Linked DNA regions of Homo sapiens: all the other regions are linked to region 2. Evidence: promoter capture Hi-C in 16 types of primary human blood cells and fetal thymus (Javierre and others, 2016). All regions are on one chromosome and are shown on one strand. Each heading gives the region's core, a stretch centred on a gene start or on the middle of the fragment in contact. The rest is flanking DNA. Distances are from core to core; before and after follow the strand shown. Region 1 has its middle 150 kb from the start of CSNK1G3. Region 2 holds the start of PHAX (phosphorylated adaptor for RNA export). Region 3 overlaps CSNK1G3 (casein kinase 1 gamma 3).

Evidence for each region. Contacts are between HindIII fragments. The CHiCAGO score rates a contact against its expected background, and 5 or more counts as called.
Region 1: a contact is called between a fragment that was not itself captured here and the fragment with the promoter of PHAX in region 2, in 2 of 17 cell types (total B cells and naive B cells). The highest score is 11.9, in total B cells.
Region 3: a contact is called between a fragment that was not itself captured here and the fragment with the promoter of PHAX in region 2, in 1 of 17 cell types (total B cells). The highest score is 13.0, in total B cells.

Annotation. Positions count from the first base shown.
Region 1 is chr5:123,659,681-123,662,477 of GRCh38, reverse strand. No RefSeq gene overlaps it. Among named protein-coding and RNA genes, the nearest start is that of CSNK1G3, 150 kb to the right of the region's middle. The HindIII fragment of the contact is 936 bases long and covers 803-1,738 here.
Region 2 is chr5:126,599,513-126,602,212 of GRCh38, reverse strand. It overlaps PHAX (phosphorylated adaptor for RNA export), which reads right to left and starts at 1,266. Exons shown (of 5, transcript NM_032177.4): 1 at 1,155-1,266. The coding sequence starts at 1,250. RefSeq lists enhancers at 1-486, 487-1,334, 1,335-2,184 and silencers at 849-1,098, 1,219-1,428. The HindIII fragment of the contact is 34,757 bases long and covers 1-2,700 here.
Region 3 is chr5:123,615,725-123,618,678 of GRCh38, reverse strand. CSNK1G3 (casein kinase 1 gamma 3) reads right to left here. Exons shown (of 14, transcript NM_001364140.2): 14 at 1,630-2,954. Among named protein-coding and RNA genes, the nearest start is that of CSNK1G3, 110 kb to the right of the region's middle. The HindIII fragment of the contact is 782 bases long and covers 930-1,711 here.

The DNA of each region.
Region 1 (2,797 bases), core at 21-2,520, 2.9 Mb after region 2:
AAGGTCTTGAAGAGAAAATGGGATTTGGTTCTAAGGGATGAGGTTGCGGGTGGGCTAGGAAACAACTGGAAATCTCGGAATTAGTGGGGGATGGTTCTGGTTCTTATATAGAAGAGACCAGAATCTCCCTCTAATACGGTGTCCTGATGAGGTTGACTGAGATAAAAATGAATCCTAGGAGGTATGGCCTTGGCTGCTACAGAAGAATTTCCACTGGCTTAGTTGTTTATAGGGAAAACTGATGCTCTGAACAACTGACCAACCCACTTTTAAATGTTCCAACTGGACTGAAACAACGAGCAGGGTCTGATCAACTATGCTCACAGAAAACCAGAGCCCCTAGTCCAGATTTCTGGCCTGATTAAACTCTCAAGGATTTGTTCAGCTCTAGGGTGGGGGAGGGCCTTCCCAGTCATGACTGATATTGGTTGTCTTGCTAACCTATTTGAACAGAGGCTTAGATTTAATTTGACTTAGAAAAATAAAGCAATATGACGTGTCTTACACTTGAGTGTTATGAAACAAATACATCTCTGCCTCAATCATAGTCAACACAAGCTCTCCCTCAGCAAAAATGTATTGTGCTCAAATAACATCACTGCATTAAATGCAACTGTTACCCAGAGTTTTTAGTCTACTGTCATTCTCTTCACACTTTGCCCATAACATGGCTGTTACACAGATTTAAATGAAGTTAAGAAATATTATCTAATAGCAATTAACAGATGAAATTGATGTGAGGATGGGACAGAATTCTAAATTCAAGGCCAACCAGTAAGACTTGCCATTGACTTGCTAAGCTTAGATGTCAGTAGCCCAAGGGCTCTGATAGGTATCTCTCTTTGTGAGCCATTCCAACAGCCCAAACATATTAGAGGCAGTGAATACTGTAGCACTGCACGCAGAGATACTCTCCTCTGATCTTTACATCTTGTGGTTGGCTAAATAATGTCCCCAAAGGTGTTCATGTTCTGATCCCCAGAACCTATAAATATTAATTGATTTGACAAAAGGGACCTTGAAGGTATGATTAAGTTAAGGATCTTGAGATGGGATTGACCTATATTATCCAGGTGGGCTCATGTATTCACAATTATCCTTATAAAAGAAAGTTAAGACACCAGAGGGAGGAGAAGTTAATATGACGACTGTGGAAGCAGAGACTGGAGTGATTGAGTGATAAGCCAAGGAATATGGGCAGTCTCTGGAAGCTAGAAAAAGTAAGAAACAGATTCTCTCCAAAGCCTCCAAAACAAACCAGACTTACCACACCCTGATTTAAGACCAATAACACTGATTCCAGACTTCTGACCTCCAGAAATGTGAGATAATAAATGTGTTATTTTAAGCCACTAATTCTGTGATAACTTGTAACAGCAGTAACAACAAACTAATACATATCTCTTTCTTTCCATATTCAGAGTGGTGGATAATTTAGATTGTGCTTCTTTATGTAGCCTAAGAGTCAAACTGGTCTAATATTAGTTTAATTTTCCCATTCAAATTTTGGAATTCATGCATTTCAGGCTAGAAAGAGAAATGATAAAGCCATCCACAGTGATCATAATGAAAACATGGAGAGCCTACACGTTCCAGGCTTTCTCACACATGCTACCTGGTATAATTCTCACTACAACCCTGAAGGATAGGTGGCAATTTCCCAATATTTTGCAGAAAAGGAAATAGGTCCAGAGATTAAGTAGTTTCTTTCCTCAAAACACATCTCCTCCAAGAAGCTTTTCCCTAACCCCTCTCCTCCCTGTTATTAGGTCGGGTGGTATGACTGGGCTCCCTCACAATCTCACTATTCCCATAGCACTCCGAGTCATAACACTTATCCACTTGTTCACCACACCCACCCTCTCTACACAGCCTTGAAGCCAGAAAACTATGCTTCATTTATCTCTTCTCTATAAAAGTGGCTAGTATACAGTTGGGGTTCAATATATCTTTGATAAAGATATGAATTAAGTACAAAATTAACACAAAATGTAGGAATTATGTAAGTATGCCCAAAGGATGAGGGCCCCTTTGATAGCTCACACACCCATCCAGATAGGATATTAAGAATCTTCTGACCCTCCTACAAGTTCTGTGACCCCAGCCAGTCTTCTCAATTACAAACAAGACTTGATGATATACTTCAAATTCAGAGAAGCAAGGAGGAGATTAAAAACAAGGGAATAATCATCTCTAATTCTTATATCAAGTTGTTTTTAGCTAACACTGTAGCTAAATAGAAAGTTACATAAATTTCTTCTCCTAAACTATCCCATAAAATTCTCAGTGTTTATCTAAGGAACAATATACCATTTCTAGATAAAGTACCTACACTTTTTTTTTGACAACCTACCTTGTTGATAACATTTTTAGTCATTAATTTCAGATTCAGGAAGAGAGAATTCAGCCATTTTTCATAGTCCTGCTGAAATCAGACACATTTCTGCTCAACTGAGCGCAGGATAATGCTCCATGATCTACTCAACTGAAACACATCACCTCAGCCACCATACGTTGCCAACTATTAAAACAAAATGGGAATCAGCTTTGCAACCCAATAGTTTACCTAAAAGTCTCTCTTAGGCAGGTTTGAACTTTATAGCATGAATTTCATTTTGCTGTAAGCTCTTACATTTATATTACTGCTTAACATCCACTCTTCATAGAAATCTGCCCTAACAATTTCAAACTATATTTATTCATGCTGAACAGTCTGCTTAACTACCAGCCTAAAATGCAGTACAGTTACCACAGAAATATTTCCTGTTATTTCAGAACTGTGAAGGTCAAACCAGTT
Region 2 (2,700 bases), core at 17-2,516:
CACTTTGGGAGGCCGAGGCGGGTGGATCACTTGAGGTCGGAAGTTCAAGACCAGCCTGGCCAACATGGAGAACCCCCGTCTCTACTAAAAATACAAAAATTAGGCCGGGCGAGGTGGCTCACGCCTGTAATCCCAACACTTTGGGAGGCCGAGGCGGGCGGATCACCTGAGGTTGGGAGTTCGAGACCAGCCTGACCAACATGGAGAAATCTCGTCTCAACTAAAAATACAAAATTAGCTGGATGTGGCCGGGCGCCGTGGTTCACACCTGTAATCTCAGCACTTTTGGAGGCCGAGGCAGGCCGATCACTTGAGGTCAGGAGTTCGAGACCAGCCTGGGCAACATGGTGAAACCCCGCGTCTACCAAAAATACAAAAATTAACCGGGCGTGGCAGCGGGCGCATGTAATCCCAGCTACTCGGGAGGCTGAGGCAGGAGAATCGCTTGAACCCGGGAGGCGGAGGTTGCAGTGAGCCGAGATCGCGCCACTGCACTCCAGCCTGGGCAACAGCGTGAGACCACCTCAAAACAACAAACAAAATCAGAGAGGCTAATGCAAAAGCCTAGTGCCATGGTACCGCATGACAAAGCTAGGTTCGGTGGAAACATGGAAAACCAGATCTTTGAGTGAGCGATAAACTTCATTCCTGGGCCTCAGTCTCCCTTCGGCTCAGGGAGAAAATGAGCATCACAGGCTGTTTCAGGCTGATGTCCCTAGATGCTACATATTTGGCAAAATCTGCCCCTTTATGGTTACCTAGCGGCGATGGAGTGGGGAAGCCCCAAGTTTAGAAAAGAAAGAGCGGTAGGCGGAGGTGAGACGTCTAAGAGGCCGCCGCAAGCCGGCCTCCAGGAGGCGCCAGGGCTCGCGCGCCCCGCCTCGCAGGGAGCAGCCAGTTCGGGGTTCGCACGGCCAGCCGCTGCCGCTGCCGCCGTCGCCCCTCGCCCCTCGGCCCCCGCAGCCCGGGCTCCGTGAGCCCGCCTGGGGGACGTCTGCTCGCCCCTTCTGCGGCCACTGACCCGACAGCCTGGGCTCCTCGCTCTGGCCCGGGCTCCTAGCTCCCACCCCTCACCCTCACCGCTGCCTGCGCGCTCCCCGGGGCCCAGGCTCCGCGCGCCCAGCCACGATCACCCACCCTCCTTTCACACTCACTGGCAATTGCAGCGGCCTGTCGCTGGGTGCGACCGTCATGTCGGAATCCGAGTCGGAAAGCTGCCCATCTTCCATATCGCCGACCTCCAACGCCATCTTCCCGCGGTGCGCTGCGCTGCACAGCGGCGGGTCAGGAGAGCACTTCCGGCGGGGCAGCCGGAAGGCCCGGCGGCTCGGCTGCTCGGGCGCCCCCGCGCGGAGGCCAGCCTGTCCCAGCGGCCTGAGGCGTCCCATTGCATTCCAACTACCCCGGGAAAATGAATCCCTTGTTCCCCCAACACTTTTCTTCCAAACTTTATTTTCGTGCAAACATAAATATGTCACGTATCGCGGTCGTCTGGGATTCCTCCCTTGGCCGTACATCCTTCCCCTGTATGCTCTGGACAAGCCTCCCCGCTTCTGTTCTTGCTCCTCCACAATCCACTCTACATATTGCTTCCAGGGAAGCCTTTCAAGCTGTATAGTCCGCCCTCTGTATCCACTCCCCATCCACGGATGCCGAACCTGCGGATGGGAAGGACCCACCGTGCACCCCCACATAATGTAAGGGGCTTGAGCATGGCGGATGTTGGTATCTGTGGGGGTCCTGAAAACAATGACCCGCGGATACCTAGGGAGGATTGTACCTTAGCTCGAATCTTCCAAGTGCATCCCTCCCCAAAACAAGGACTGAGTTCTCAGCATGGTGTTTGAAATGTTTGTTTTCCGGTGTCGTAAAGAAATAGCAACATAAATTTAACTTACTGAATAAGGCCATTTTTACTTTCTGCAGAAAGGGTACACTCGCCAGCAGTTTTGCCAGGAGAGTACACTGAACAAAAGGAGACAGGGTCATTTATAACCTGACGTGTTTACCTTACTGCTGTGGCTGGTTTTTATTGGCTGGACCGGACCTCACATTTTGTATTTGTCCCGATTGGCTAGCAACTTAGAACTTTTTAAAAGAGGCAAAGGTAGAGGAGAACAAAGGAAGGAGGAAGTAACTTGTGGAATGCTGAGAAAGATGAAAACACTTTTAAATAAGGAAGAGGAACAGGCTATGACCTAATGCTTGCTTGGACTAGTAAAAGCATGCCAGGGCAAATATTTAGGCTAAATTGTGGGAGCTAAGAACATAAAGTACATTTTTTTTTATTATGGCTAGCAGATATTTAAGAATGTTAGCACAGATCTTTGAATAAATTTTGCTTTTAAGAGAAGTTACTATTTATTCCTAATTAGACGGGGAGGAAAGTTTTTGAAGAGGAACCTCTGTTTTACTTTGCCACATGGCAAACAAGGTCATGTGGACTGGGCATCTGGTCACTGGTCCTAGTGTGTCCCCCTGCCTAACCGCTGGCGCGCTGAACCTGTTGTTCCTCAGGCCAGGCCTCTGCATTTGCTGTTCACTCGGCCTGAGAGGCCCTTCCCTCAACCCACCCCATTCTTTAAGGGTTATCTTGGAACCCGCCTTTGCGAAAATTATAACAGTGAGAAAATTATGGCAGTGGGAGAGATCTGATCTAGCCAACCCCTATCTTGCTTTTAGCCTTCAAGCTGCCCTTAA
Region 3 (2,954 bases), core at 71-2,570, 3.0 Mb after region 2:
TAAATATACAATTGAGCATCCACCTAACCTTCAACAGGAAGTGATTAATATGCAATGTAATGACAGCTAAAAGGCAAATGGCAATAGCAGAATCTAATAGAATTCTATAAATACCTTCCAAATGATGAATATGATCAATTAAAATTACACAATCACAACTGATAACAGTACATGGATGTATCTATTTGAGTGAGAAGATGTTTTCAAAGATGAAATACAAAAAATCACATTACAGGCCAGCATTAACAAATGAATGCTTGCAATTAATTTTGAACCCCAATTTAGTGAGATATCCCCTCAAAATCACTCGATTCTTATCATTAGTAGCCCTGTATCACACAAAAAATTCAAGTATTAATATATTTTGAATTTTATCAATAAAATATATGTGAAAATTTTTCATTCTCATTAAATATATAAAAGCCTCAATTTTGCCTTTTGGCTCACAAAGCCTAAACTTTACCAAAAAAGATTCCAACCCCTAGTCTGGAGAAGTGCCAGAGTGTCTGACCATTTAAGTGAAATCAAAGTATAAATATCCCAATAAACAATTGGTTTAACAAAACCATTTTTATATCCCAATAATATTACCTGATCATTCTTCTATATATAGTCCTTTCTTTGGTTATGATCCATGTAGTCTTATGAACAAGTAAATGTCCTAAGAAAATAATTTATGTGGGTCTGTATTAGAATTGGGCAGAGAAGAAATTAGTTATCCTGAATATCAGCAAATCTTTATAATTCTATTTGCACTCTAGTAGAAAAAAAAGTTTTTAACTCTTCTCAACCAGTTCCATCACCATTGTGTCTCCTCAAGGTCAAACCATGACTCAGGCTCAGCTACTGGGAGAACAATATTCCCTTGTCCATAGTAATTGGCTCAGGGGTGGGCACATCAACCAATAAGGGAATGTCAGTCTTAAGCTTCTGTTGGAAATATTGAGAAAAATGGCCCTTTGTTTTTGCTGAGACTACTAAGATGGTAGGGTAGAAGTCTCAAGCTGCTGGATGACCACTTTACCATGACACATGGAAAGTCTTCCTGACAGTGAAAACAGCAGGGTAGGAAAGCAAAACCAAAAGATATGGAGAAGATTCCTGTCTTAACTCCAGGATTAAGCATGTCTGAAGGCAGTCCTACCACTGAACTTTTCAGTTAAATGAAATAATGTACACTCTTATTGCTCAAGCCAGGTTAAATTCTGTCACTTTCAATTCAAAGAGTTCTGACTAATGCAACTATACATTCATTCAGACTGAAATCCCAATCTTAAAGTCGAATTTTTCTAAATAGAGCCTTTAACAGTTTTGTGTCATCTCCAGATCTTTCTCCTGCTTCTGAAGGTCTCTGCTGCTTAATGGACACAATATTCACAGGGTGAGAGAGGGCTGCTTTGCCTTTTCTTACCTGTAGCATCCCTCAGTAAGTAGCGTACCATTAATGCCATTTTGTAAAATCCCTTAAAGCACCTAGCACAATGATGAACTATGAGATACTGTTAGAAATATGGGCTCCCCATCTACAATGATTTTAAAGTCATTCACTTAAAACTGGAATAATGCTTAATTTCTGTGAACATAATAGTATGATTCCATTCTCAAAAAGGAAAAATGATGCTATTTCCCTTAATTTATCAGAAGATGTATTTAATTATTGCTCTATTAAACAGTTCAGAGAAGTATAATTTTTTTTATATTAAAGAAAGCTTAGATCCTTCCTAGTGTGTGCTTTTTACCACTGGATTTCAAGAAAGCAAAACAAAACATAAAATAACAAAAGCATATTCCTTTAGCTCTGCTTCTCATATATAACAGACTAAATAAACCAAATTTTTATAATTCCTATCTTAAATTAGGGAGTGACATTATTTTACCCATCTTTAGAGGAAATGGGAAAGAGCAAGTTTAAAAAAACTACTTTTATTTTTTTTTATTTCTTTTTCAGTTACATACTTTTAAACAGGGATGTGTTTCATTATTCAGACATTCAGGCAATGTTGACTTCATTAGTGTTGACAGAAAATAAGCATAAAAATGCAAAACATTGTTGGCTTAACCTGAACATACCTGCATTACCTATTATTGACCAGTTTGTGTTGCCAAAAGACTTATTCCTCGGCATTAAAATGGAGCACTTAAAAATATTGCTAAAAAGCAAATGCCTACACACTGGTCTTTGCAGCAAATAAGGGTATTTATACTTTTAAAATATTTTAAGTCCATAATTGGATTAATATACACACCTTCTTATGTATAAGGAGTTCAGATCATATAAACACTGTACAATCCAAAAAACCCTACTGAGAATAAAACTAAATAGGCTTATGATAAGAAATACAGATATTCGCATGTATTTACAAATATCATAGACACACAAGTTTGGTCAAATACTGTAAAGAAAGAAGAAGTGGTTTCACATTATAATGGCCAAAATGTTTATCTACCTTGCTCAAAGCAAATAAAAATATAAACTCAGTATGTAACTCCTGCAGTTTAAGACATCATGACAGTATACAGATAGATAGAAACTGTTGACCAAATTATACAGCAAATGTTTTGTAGGTTAAGTGTAGGTCTTTAAAATAAAAAAAAGATCATTCATAGGATTCATAGCAACAATGATAAACAATGTCCTGATTTGTGGTGTTCATGTGGGTGCCTAATTCATCAAAAAAAAATGCATTAAACTTTTGGCTAATAAGAAAAATAAATTACAAAGTACAATTAAATCCCTGTAAATGCAATAATGAAGTAAAAAAATGTAGCTTTACTTTAATATACATCTTAAATGTTACCTTGAGACAATAAAAATAAATAAGCATGCCTGGAGGCACACACTTAAAGACAACGAAGAGACTGCATGGGAGGAATAAGTAACAATTATATAAATGAAAGATGAATATGAGATTTATTCAAAATAATTATCTTTCTAGCCAGTCTTTGTTTTAACC